Linked DNA regions of Homo sapiens: regions 1 and 3 are each linked to region 2. The links are contacts of gene promoters, found by promoter capture Hi-C in blood cells and fetal thymus (Javierre and others, 2016). All regions are on one chromosome and are shown on one strand. Each heading gives the region's core, a stretch centred on a gene start or on the middle of the fragment in contact. The rest is flanking DNA. Distances are from core to core; before and after follow the strand shown.

The links. The method cuts DNA at HindIII sites, captures the fragments that hold promoters and counts their contacts. A CHiCAGO score of 5 or more calls a contact.
Region 1: a contact is called between a fragment that was not itself captured here and the fragment with the promoter of KCNIP2-AS1 in region 2, in 4 of 17 cell types (total B cells, erythroblasts, total CD8 T cells and 1 more). The highest score is 6.3, in total B cells.
Region 3: a fragment that was not itself captured here is called in contact with the fragment with the promoter of KCNIP2-AS1 in region 2 in 4 of 17 cell types (endothelial precursors, neutrophils, erythroblasts and 1 more); the score reaches 7.0 in endothelial precursors.

The regions. Positions count from the first base shown.
Region 1 is chr10:102,166,228-102,170,204 of GRCh38, forward strand. No RefSeq gene overlaps it. Among named protein-coding and RNA genes, the nearest start is that of NOLC1, 16 kb to the left of the region's middle. The HindIII fragment of the contact is 1,609 bases long and covers 1,814-3,422 here.
Region 2 is chr10:101,817,633-101,821,596 of GRCh38, forward strand. KCNIP2-AS1 (KCNIP2 antisense RNA 1) reads left to right here and starts at 1,436. Exons shown (of 3, transcript NR_045118.1): 1 at 1,436-1,616. OGA (O-GlcNAcase) reads right to left here and starts at 812. Exons shown (of 16, transcript NM_012215.5): 1 at 192-812. The coding sequence starts at 390. RefSeq lists enhancers at 345-920, 722-841 and silencers at 372-431, 512-571. The HindIII fragment of the contact is 3,022 bases long and covers 891-3,912 here.
Region 3 is chr10:102,081,047-102,085,387 of GRCh38, forward strand. No RefSeq gene overlaps it. Among named protein-coding and RNA genes, the nearest start is that of HPS6, 18 kb to the left of the region's middle. The HindIII fragment of the contact is 2,290 bases long and covers 115-2,404 here.

The sequences.
Region 1 (3,977 bases), core at 1,368-3,867, 350 kb after region 2:
AGATACCTAGGACGTTTTCATCTTGTAAAATTGAAACTATATTCATTAAACACTAATATCCCCTCCTCCCCAGCCCTTGGCAACCATCTTTCTACTTTGTTTTTATGATTTTGGCTACTTTAGATATAACCTCATGAGTGGAACAGTAATGATATTATCTTTTTGTAGCTGGCTTATTTTACTTAGCCAAGCCAATGTCCTCAAGGTTCATCCATGTTATAGCAGGTGACAGGATTCCCTTCCTTTTTAAGACTGCATGATATTCCATTGTACGTCTATACCACTTTCGCCCAGACTGGAGTGCAGTGGCGTGATCTCAGCTTACTGCAACATCCGCCTCCCAGGTTCAAGCAATTCTCTGCCTCAGCCTCCTGAGTAGCTGGGATTATAGGCACCTGCCACCATGCCTGGCTAATTTTTGTATTTTTAGTAGAGACGGGATTTCACCATCTTGGCCAGGCTGGTCTTGAACTCCTGACCTCGTGATCTGCCCACCTCGGCCTCCCAAAGTGCTGGGATTACAGGTGTGAGCTACCACGCCTGGCCTTGGCATTTTTATTTTATTTATTTTGAGACAGGGTCTTGCTCTGTCACCCAGGCTGGAGTACAGTGGTGCAAACTTGGCTCACTACAACCTCCACCTCCCAGGCTCAAGCAATCCTCTCATCTTAGCCTTCCGAATAGCTGGGACCACAGGTATGTGCCACCACACTTGGCTAATTTTTGTGTTTTTTGTAGACAGGGTTTTGTCATGTTGCCCAGGCTGGTCTCGAACTGAGCTCAAGCTATCTGCCTGCCTTGGCCTCCCACAAGTGTTGGGATTACAGACGGGAGCCACCGCGCCCAGCCCGTTTTCATTTTTAAGTTGAATATGACATACATCCATTAATTTATTCTCCTTAAAACATAAATAATTTGTGAGGTTGCTGTTTATTGTTTAAATCATGACTTTTCTTCTGTATTGTATAACCCTTCTCAGTCTTGTTTGCTTTTTTCCGACAGAACTCATTTCCTCTTAGGCCTTGCAAAGCTGAGTCTGCTACGTTTTGCAGCTAGTGTGTTACACAAATGAGGCGGTTTAGCAAATTGCCTAACAGTATTCATTAGGAAGGTTAACCTGAGTCTGCGTTTGTTTGTTTGTTTGTTTGTTTTTGAGACAGGGTCTTGCTCTGTTGCACAGGCTGGAGTGCAGTGGTGCGATTACGATCACCGCTCACTGCAGCCTCAGCCTCTGGGGCTCAAGCAGATACTCTGATCTCAGCCCCCTGAGTAGCTGAGATCCTCCCACCTCAGCCTCCTGAGTAGCTGGGACTACAGTAGTCACTAGGCTTGGCTAGTTGTTTTTTTGTTTGTTTTGTTTTTGTTTTTGTTTTTAATTTTGTTTTGTAGAGACAGGGTCTCCCTGTGTTGCCCAGGCTACTCTCAAACAATCCTCCCACCTCAGCCTCCCAAAGTGCTGGGATTACAGGCGTGAGCCACTGTGCCCAGCCCAGAGTGTACCTTCTGATGTAAAATGAGAATACTGGCTGGGCCTGTAATCCCAGCACTTTGGGAGTCCAAGGCGGGTGGATCACGAGGTCAGGAGATCGAGACTATCCTGGCTACTTGCAGTGAGCTGAGATCGCACCACTGCACTCCAGGCTGGGTGACAGAGCAAGGCTCTGTCTCAAAAAAAGAGAGAATACTATCTCAACTCATTTGTAGATTCTTGACTCTCTCAGAGGCTTGTTGTAAGGACTGAGAATTTAAAGCACTTAGTACAGTCCCTGGCATATTATAAGCACTCCATAACTGCCTCTTGCTCAACAAAAAAAGCTTTGGAAATGATGTTCTTTGGTTTCCTTGTGATGTGCAACATGCCATTTTGGCAAAGGCATCAAGCATATGTTAATGATTATTTCCCTGCAATGGTTTTTTGTTGTTTCACGTTTATCATCTTTATTCCTGATACAAAAATGGATATGTGGAATTGGTCCTATTAGAAACTTCTTAGTTTTGTGAAGAATCTGGAATTCCTACCCCTTGCTGATGGGCTCTGGCACTGAAATCCGCAAATTCAGTCAACCAGACACATGGCTCATGCCCCTCTGCATCATGCTTCATGGACACAGGCAGGAGACTTCCTAATGCCCTGTTGGGGGCTTGCCCTTCGCCCGGTGTAGCCTTACTGCAACCCTGTTAGGTGGGTATCGAGTAGATCATTCCATTTGGGGCCAGGTAAGTCTTTGCTTTTGAGGACTGTCCTGTGTGTTGTAGGATGTGTGGCAGCGTCCCTGGCCTCTAACACTGCATGCCAATAGTTTCCCCTAGTTGTGACAACCAAAAACGGCTCCAGGCATTGCCAAATATTTTCTGGGAAGGAAAATTGCCCCTAGTTGAAAACCACTACGGAAACAGCCCTGAGTATCAAATGATTTACTTAGGGTTGATGAAACTGCAACTTAGTGGCACATTGAGACAAGAACACAGGTCTCTGTATGTCCAAACATGGAGCTACCTGTATTCAATAGTCTTTGTGAACCTGCTATGTACTCGTCATAGAACTCCCAGAGAGCTCAGTGTCTAATGGGGAAAGTCAGGCATGGGAATGGTTTCTGTGCACTGAGCTGAGTTCTGTCCCAAACTGAAGGTCAGAGTAGCACCCCTAAGGGTACAAGCAAGAAAATACTTGGCTTGGCCCGGTGTGGTGGCTCACACCTGTAATCCCAGCACTTTGGGAGGCCGAGGCAGGCAGATCACGAGGTCAGGAGTTCGAGACCAGCCTGGTCAACATAGTGAAACCTCGTCTCTACTAAAAATACAAAAAATTAGCCAGGTGTGGTGGCAGGCGCCTGTAATCCCAGCTACTCAGGAAACTGAGACAGGAGAATCGCTTGAAACCGGAAGGCGGAGGTTGCAGTGAGCCAAGATCGTGCCACTGCACTCCAGCCTGGGCAACAAAGTGAAACTCTGTCTCAAAAAAAAAAAAAAAAAAAAAGAAGAAGAAGAAGAAGAAAAGACTTGGCTGATGGTGGCCTAGGATTCTGAAGACAGCTGCAGTTTGCCAGGAGCGAGAAAAGTGCATACCGTGTAAGGAAGAGTGCCTTTTCCAGTGGGAGAAGAGGGCTGTTAGAATGGGTCAAGCAGAGGTGTGCGGGAGGTGGGGGCAAGATACTGCGAAATTTCACTGAGAGTTCAATGTCAATGGCCTTTTGTACCTAAGTTAGGAATTAGTACTTTATTTTGTCCACCTGAGTATGTTAGGAGATTTGATAGTCTAATACAATACTCCTGGCACTAATCCGGTTGCGGTGAAAGCACTATTTCTGCCGGACCACGAAGTTCTCAAATCCCTCCTGCAGAGCCTGTCTGCAGTTACCGATGGGGCCAGTAGGTGGCGATGTTGCCCCCCTGTTTAGGGAGCTGGGCTGGACTTAAATAGAAGCTTAACTCCTTACTTACTCCAGTGCTATTCAACAAACTTGAAGAGCCGGGCGCAGTGGCTCACGCCTGTAATCCCAGCACTTTGGGAGGCGGAGGCGGGCGGATCACGAGGTCAGCCGATCGAGACCAACCTGGTTAACACAGTGAAACCCCGTCTCTACTAAAAATACAAAAAATTAGCGGGGCGCCGTGGCGGGCGCCTATATAGTCCCAGCTACTCGGGAGGCTGAGGCAGGAGAATGGCGTGAGCCCGGGAGGCGGAGCTTGCAGTGAGCCGAGATAGCGCCACTGCACTCCAGCCTGGGCGACAGAGCGAGACTCCGTCTCAAAAAAAAAAAAAAACACCTTGAAGAGCCCACTGTGAGCCTTTGGATACACAGATGAATAAGACACAGGCCCTCATCTGAGGCTCTTTAGTTTTGGAAATTAGAGAAGGGGTTTTTTGTTTGTTTGTTTGTTTGTTTGTTTTGAGACAGAGTCTCGCTCTGTCGCCCAGGCTGGAGTGCTGTGGTGCCATCTCGGCTCACTGCAAGCTCTGCCTCCTGGGTTCACGC
Region 2 (3,964 bases), core at 186-2,685:
GAATTCGACGCCGTCTTAAGACGTGCAAGGAGATTCGCCCAACATCTCGTCTCTCCCCTCGCTTTAGGAGGGCCACATTTCAGACCCAGAGGCTTTCCGGCCTTTTAGAGTCTCCAAAATCCCCGCCACCACCCTCCTCCCGAGGACAGAACGTGTTAGTGCCAAAACGGGGAGGGAAGGAGGGCGCTCACCTTCCACCACACCGCAGAGGAACCGCCGAGCCCCTCCTGCAGCCCCGGCCACCGCCGCTCCCCCAGCCCCGGCGGGGTTGTCTTCTCCGGGTGCCGGAGCTGCCGGCGGCTCCAGCGATGCCCCCGCAGAGGCGGCAGGGTTGGAGCTGAGCTCGCTCTCCCGCTCCTCCAACGTCGCTTGACTCTCCTTCTGCACCATCCTCCTGCCCCCGGCCGCTGCCACCTCTGCGGGTCCTCCTCGACCTCTGTCCGTTGGGGCACCGGCCCGGAGCCCTGGAGAGGGCTTCAGCTCCAAGTGTGCGCCCCTCCGGCTCCTTCCCCTCCCCCTCTGCCCTTCCCCCTCCCTCTCCGCAGGGACCCGAATGCCCGGATGAGAAGGGCGGCGGCACCGGCGCGAGCCCTTTGTCAGCCGCAGCCTCGGCTTTAAGCTGGGGCGCCAGAAGCCTAAGCGGAGAGCGAGGCTGTGACCTCTCGTTCCCTGGAAGAAGACGGCCAAGGGTCCTGTCCTCGTTCTCTGCCTCTGCTGCCCTCCCGATAATCTTAGGTCTTCCGCTGTTTCCCCTCCAAGCCCCGAGCTCTCCCTCTGCTGCTGCCTCCACCGCCCGCTTCCTGTTTATCCGCACTGCGCTTGCGCTGCAGACCGGCTCAGACCGGTCCCCTCCGCCCGGCTCCCCCGCCTTCTTTGGGGCTAGCCTATTAAGCTTCTTTAGGTAGGGGGAAATAGAACAGGAGACGCGAAAAGCAGAAGGTAATGAAGGCAGTGGAATGTACCATTTCTGCTTGCCACCCTCCGAAACAAGCCTGGCACCCTGGGACGGACGGACCATTACCCGCCCCGAAGGAGGGGAGTATGGGAGGAGGCTGCCGCCGGTTGGGGCAATAGGGAGAAGGGGGGAAGGTGAAAAGGAGAGGTGTTTATTCTCTCAGTGCGCAGGCGCGGAGCCGCGGCCTCTCGTTCTTAAAGAGATAGGAAAGAACTGACCTACTTTCTATGGAGATTCTTGTAATAGGTGGGCTCATTACATCTGCCTAACCCAGGCTTGGTTCGGTAAAGACACCATTCCAAGGAGCTCAGCTCACCCCTCTGCCTTGAATCATTTTCCCCTAATCCCATTTAAAATGTAATCATTCGTTCATTCCTTCATTCAGTAGACATCTATAGAGCTTGCCTCGTGCTGGGCTCTAGAACACTATGAGCTCACAGTACGGTGGTGGAGACAAGCCACCACACACGCAGTTCCCACAAGGTGTCCCCAAGAACTTCGGAGCTCAGAACAGGTGATACTCACTCCTCCTTTGGGGAGAGGCCGTGGGCATGGCTTCACTTTTCAGCTGGATTATAAAGGATGTGAAGTTAGCCTGACTGAGCAGAAGGGGAGGGAAGACAGCACTCCAGGAAAGTGGAACGAACAACAGAGTCCAAAGGTAGGGAGGCATGAAAAGCCTGCCTTGTTTGGGAATGGGGAGCGCGCGGTGTGTGCAGTGGGGCATGAGATCCCTTCGGCCTCGGCATGGGCATCGCTTCCTTGGGAAGCCTTCCCTGAGCCCTAGATGGGTTTGGGTCTCCTTGCTGTATGTTCTCAGAGCTCTCTTGTAGACCTACCCTAATGCACTTTACATTTATGATGCTTGAGAAATCTATCTCAACCTGTGAGGTATAAACATGAAATGATGATTAAGACTTAGTAATGTCCATCTTACACTTCAGTCTGATATTTACCTTCTTTAGCCGTAGCCCAACTTGTAGTTTCAGGGACTTTCATGGTCCCTCTTCTTTTCAGTCCTGGATTGTTGAGATGGGGGTTAGGAGCAAACTTTTTTTTTTTTTTTGAGACAGAGTTTCACTCTGTCGCCCAGGCTGGAGCGCAGGAGCGCAGTGGCGCAATCTCGGCTCACTGCAGCCTTCACCTCCTGGGCTCAGGCTATTCTCCTGCCTCAACCTCTCGAGTAGCTGAGACTACAGGCACCCGCCACCACACCCGGCTAATTTTGTGTTTTTAATAGAGACGGGGTTTCGCCACGTTGACTAGGCTAGTCTTGAACTCCTGACCTCAGGTGATCCACCTGCCTCGGCCTCCCAAAGTGCTGGGATTACAGGTGTGAGCCACCGCGCCCGGCCGGACAAGCATTTTCTTAAGGGACCTCCTGTGCTGAGAGTTAGGGGCCATAGCAGCTTTACTGGATATTGTGGTCCGTTGGGGTTGAGAACACAATTTTTTTTTTTTTTTTTTTTTTGTAAGAGAAGAGGTCTCATTTTGCCACGCAGGCTAGTGCAATCATAGCTTAAGTATCGAATTCCTGGGCTCTCAAGGGATCTTCCCGCCTTAGCCATCCCGAGTAGCTGGGACTATAGGCGAGTGCCCGCCACCACACTCTTTTAATTTGTTCATTTTTGGTAGAGACGGGGGTCTCAACATCTTGCCCAAGCTGGTCTCAAACTCTTGGGCTCAGGTGATCCTCCAGTCTCAGCCTCCCAAAGTGCTGGGATTACAGACACGTGCCACCTCACCTGGCCGAAAAGAACTTTTATCTGAGGAATGAGAGTCCTTTTAAATTATCAGGCCCAGATGGCTGGGCGCAGTGTTGGTGTTTGCAACCAGCCTGGGCAATATTGCCAGACCCAGTCTTTATAAAAAAATAAAAATAGGCCGGGCGTGGTGGCTCACACCTGTAATCCCAGCACTTTGGGAGGCCGAGGCAGATGGATCACCTGAGGTCGGGAGTTCGAGACCAGCCTGACCAACATGGAGAAACCCCGTTTCTACTAAAAATACAAAATTAGCTGGGCATGGTGGCAGATGCCTGTAATCCCAGCTACTCGGGAGGCTGAGGCAGGAGAATCACTTGAACCCGGGTTGCGTGAGCCGAGATCGTGCCATTGCACTCCAACCTGGGCAACAAAAGCTAAACTCCATCTCAAAAAAAAAACAAAAAAAAAAAAAAAAAAAAAAAGCCAGGCGTAGTGGTGTGCACCTGTAGTGCTAGGATCTCACCACTGCACTCCAGCCTGAGCCACAGAACAAGACCCTGCCTCTAAAAAAAAAAAAATTAAAAAATAAATAAATCTTTAAAAATTAAAAATAAATAAATAGGCCCAGCGAGGCATTAAAATGACAGAATCAGCCGGGCTCAGTGGCTCACGCCTGTAATCCCAGCACTTTGAGAGGCCAAGGCGGGCAGAAAGTCAGGAGTTCAAGAATAGCCTGGCCATCATGTTGAAACTCCGTCTCTACTAAAACTACAAACAATAGCTGGGCATGGTGGTGCGCGCCTGTAATCCCAGCTATTTGGGAGGCTGAGGCAGGAGAATCACTTGAACCTGGGAGGCAGAGGTTGCAGTGAGCCAAGATCGTGCCACTGCCCTCCAGCCAGGGCAACAGAGTGAGACTCAGTCTCAAAAAAAAAAAAAAAGAAAAGAAAATGACAGAATCACATCCTATGCCTCCCTCCTTTGAGCTATGTATTCATCTCTTGACACTGCTTGCTCTTGCCACAAGTAGCTATAAATTAACCTAATAATGTTGTACTGGACATTCTAACACACACCCTATAGTTTAACAATGTATAGCCAATCAATAGCTTATGTTATTTTAATGTAAACTGTTGGTAAATAACTCAGGAACTGCCTCTTCTTTCCCTATAAAAATCCACTTGTAACTGCTGCTAATCAGAGTGTCTATTTAGGGCAACTTGAATCTATGCTCTTTCGTTGCAATCCTCAAGCTTATAATAAACTCTCTACTTGTATTCATTTTGCCTCAGCTTCTTCCTTA
Region 3 (4,341 bases), core at 10-2,509, 260 kb after region 2:
TGCCCAGGGTAGCCTGGATGTTGCTGCCCTGTGTCTGAAGCTCTTGGTCCAGCTGGTCCCTCTCCATAGTGAGCTGAAGGGCAAGGTCCCTGATGCTCTGCAGAACCTTTTCAAAGCTTTGGTTGCTAGGAAAGGAGTCAAGAACAATAAATGGAATATAGATCCTGGCATTGACAGTGGAAAGATGACTTGGCTTTGACCCCAGCCCAAGGAGGCACTGCTCTGCCAGGCCAAGCTGGAGCCACAATCCTGGAGACTCTTTGGATAACTTCCATCCTCCCCACTAACACACTGAAGAGCATTTCATACCTCAAAGCACCTCCCTGTCAGTCACTTCATCTGATCCTCCTATCCCTGAAGCCCACAGGGCAGGGGTTATGATGCTCAGATTACAGATGAGAAAACTAAGCTACAAACAGCACACTGGCTCCTTGGCTAGCAGATGAGAGAGCTGGGACTAGAAAGAAGATGGGTCTGCAGGCTTAAGGCCAGAACCTTTCCCCATGGACTCCTCTCAGCTGCAGAGTAGGACCCCAGCCATGGCTGGACTGCCATAGCTGCAAAATTTTTTTTTTGTTTTTTTTGAGACAGAGTTTCACTCTTGTTGCCCAGGCTGGAGTGCAATGGCACGATCTCGGCTCACTGCAACCTCCGCTTCCTGGTTCAAGCAAGACTCCTGCCTCAGCCTCCTGAGTAGCTGGGATTACAGGCATGTGCCACCACGCCCAGCTAATTTTGTATTTTCAGTAGAGACGGGGTTTCTCCATATTGGTCAGGCTGGTCTCGAACTCCTGACCTTAGGTGATCCACCCGCCTTGGCCTCCCAAAGTGCTGGGATTATAGGCATGAGCCACTGTGCCCAGCCTAGCTGCATAATTTTAACTTTGGACTTGGGGAAAGCAGATGTGTGACCAAAGGACCGAGAGCTTTACAAGTTAGAAAGCAAAGGAGGTGTATGTAAAATTATATCCTTCCATTTTATGACTGTCTTTGCTTCTTGAAGGAAGCTCAGCTGCCCACTCAGGCCTGGGGCATTTCTGCATGCTGCTGACCTGTTTGGATTGCATTCTGAACTGTTAGTAGTGTACCTAGAGGCTCACTGGATAAGAATTCATGAGAATTTAATCCCTCCTTCACCACCTATTGGCTGTGTAACCTTAGGTAATTTTCTTAACCTCTCTGTATAACCACATCAGACCAATCTCGTCCAACTTAATTAATTAATTAATTTTTATTTTTATTTATTTATTTATTTTTTGAGATGGAGTCTTGCTGTCGCCCAGGCTGGAGTGCAGTGGCATGATCTCCACTCGCTGCAACCTCTGCCTCCCAGGTTCATGCCATTCTCCTGCCTCAGCCTCCCAAGTAGCTGGGACTACAGGTGCCCGCCACCACGCCCAGCTAATTTTTTGTATTTTTTAGTAGAGATGGGGTTTCACCATATTAGCCAGGATGGTCTCGATCTCCTGACCTCATGATCCACCCGCCTCGGCCTCCCAAAGTGCTGGGATTACAAGCATGAGCCACTGCGCCTGGCCAACTTTATTTTTTATGAGACAGGATCTCACTTGTCGCCCAGGCTGGAGTGCAGTGGCTCGATCACTGCTCACTGCAGCCTCGACTTTCTCATCTCAGGCGATCCTCCTGCCTCAGCCCCCCAAGTAGCTGGGACTACAGATGCACACCACCATACCTGGCCAGTTTTTGTAGAGACAGGGTTTCGCCATGTTGCCCAGGCTAGTCTGGAACTCCTGGGCTCAAGCAATCCATTTGCCTTGGCCTCCCAAAGTTCTGAGATTACAGGCGGGAGCCACCACTCCCACTGCACCTAGCCTGGTCCAACTTTTATGTAACAAAGTTGCGAGTTGTTTTTCAGTTGCCACGGACCCCAGGTTGAAGATCATGTAAACTGAGCATGACCAGATGATCCAAGCATGCAGCCAATGATGGAACCTAAGTGCTCAGATCAAGGAGCAGGGACTGAATTAAGAGGTGGACACCATGGCGGGATCCAAGATTCAGTAAGATGGAGCCCTGGCATCACCCCATGGCAGGATCCAGTCAGATCCTGCCTCCTGGCATCTCCTCATCAAAAGATCCAATCAGTTCTCACCTTCTTATCCTATGTTTATAAAACCTGACCCATCCCCCAGCTCAGGGAGACAGATTTGAGAGTTTCCTCCTGTCTCCTTTCCAGTTGACTTGCAATTAACTTTTCTCACTGCAAAAACTTGATGCTTTGGTGTTTGGCTTTCCATTGCACGTGGGCAAATGAACCCAGTTTGGTTCAGTGACACCTGAGCTTCAATTTCCTCAGCCACAAAAAATGAAAGATAAGAATAGTATTTTACAGGACAGTCTTAAGGATTAAAAGAGAGAATAAATGTGGAGAAAATTATTTGTAAGCTTATAAGTTCTTTACATATCAGTTGGAGACACTAATAGGATTTTTAGGGGTTGCTAAAATCAGTCTCTTTATTTTTATTTTAGTTAGTTATTTTAGAGACAGGGTCTTGCTCTGTCACCTAGGCTATGGTGCAGTGGTGTGATGATAGCTCATTGCAACCTCGAACTCCTAGGCTCAAGCAATTCTCCTGCTTCAGCCTCCCAAGTAGCTGGGACTATAAGCACTTGCCACTATGCCAAGCTAATTTTTATTTTGTGTAGAAACAGGATCTTATCATGTTGCCCAGGCTGCTCTCAAACATCTGGCTTCAAATGATCCTTCCACCTCAGCCTCCCAAAGTGCTGGGATTATAGGCATGGGTGACCACACGCGGCTTTTTTTTTTTTTTTTTTTTTTTTTTTTTTGGTGGGGGTGGGGTGTCTTTTTTAATTGAAAAGCTAACAAATTTTCCAAGTCCATTTCTCCAAAAAAACCCACAAACTGTGTAGTAACTGAGTCTCTCAGCAATATACTCAAAGCTAAGAGGATTTTTTTTTAAAGTCCTCAGATGCAGTTAAGGAAAGCCCTGCTACATACAGGTTAATCAATATCAGTAATACCCCTTGACTCTAGGAGGCTGGAAGATATCCTAGTAACCCCACTCACATCAATTGTTTCAAGTAGCCTTTTTCCAGTTTCCAACTCATGAGTAAAGATAATATTTTGTGGCTAGGTGTGGTGGCTCACACCTGTCATCTTAGCACTTTGGGAGGTGAAAGTGGGCAGATCACTTGAGCCCAGGAGTTCAAGACCAGCCTGGGCAACATGGCAAAACCCTATCTGAACAAAAATTACAAAATTTCGGCAGTTGTGGTGGTGTGCACCTGTAGTCCCAGCTACTCGGGAGGATGAGGTGGGAGGATCATCTGAGCCCAGGAGGTCGAGGCTACAGTGAGCCAAGATGGTGCCATTACACTCCAGCCTGAGTGACAGAGTGAGTCCCTGTCTCGAAAAAAAAAAAAAAAAAAAGGCCAGGTGGCTCACACCTGTAATCCCAGCACTTTGGGAGGCTGAGGCGGGCGGATCACGAGGTCAGGAGATCGAGACCATCTTGGCTAATGCAGTGAAACCCCGTCTCTACTAAAAAAATACAAAAATTAGCCAGGCATAGTGGCGGGTGCCTGTAGTCCCAGCTACTCAGGAGGCTGAGGCAGGAGAATGGCATGAACTCGGGAGGCAGAGCTTGCAGTGAGCCGAGATTGCGCCACGGCACTCCAGCCTGGGCGACAGAGCGAGACTCTGTCTCAAAAAAAAAAAAAAAAAAGATAATTGTTTTAAATTCTATTTCAGAAAATGTTTTGCAAGTTGTTTTACTTACAATCCCAACTTTTTTTTTTTTTTTTTTGAGATGGAGTTTCGCTCTTGTTGCCCAAGCTGGAGTACAATGGCGTGATCTTGGCTCACTGCAACCTCCACCTCCCAGGTTCAAGCAATTCTCCTGCCTCAGCCTCCCGTGTAGCTGGGATTACAGGTGCATGCCACCACGCCTGGCTAATTTTTTGTATTTTTAGTAGAAACGGGGTTTTACCATGTTAGCCCACCTGGTCTCAAACTCCTGAGCTCAGGTGATAAGCCGGCCTTGGCCTCCCAAAGTGCTGGGATTACAGGCGTGAGCCACCACGCCCGGCCTACAATGCCAACTTTTAAAAAGGTGACTAAAGTTAACTGGACAATAAACTAGGCAGACATCACTTTACAAAAAAGGGGGAAAGCCCAAAATGCCACTTTCTTTAGAGAACCCACATTTCAGTTTTATGTATAGCAAAGAAGACAGGAACTTTCTATCACACTGGAAGAAACTCAGCCATAGGTTTGGAATCTGTACTCAAACGATGCATGCAATGAGCACAATATTCTGCTGGTATAATTGATTTGCAGTTGCATTTGTCTACTGT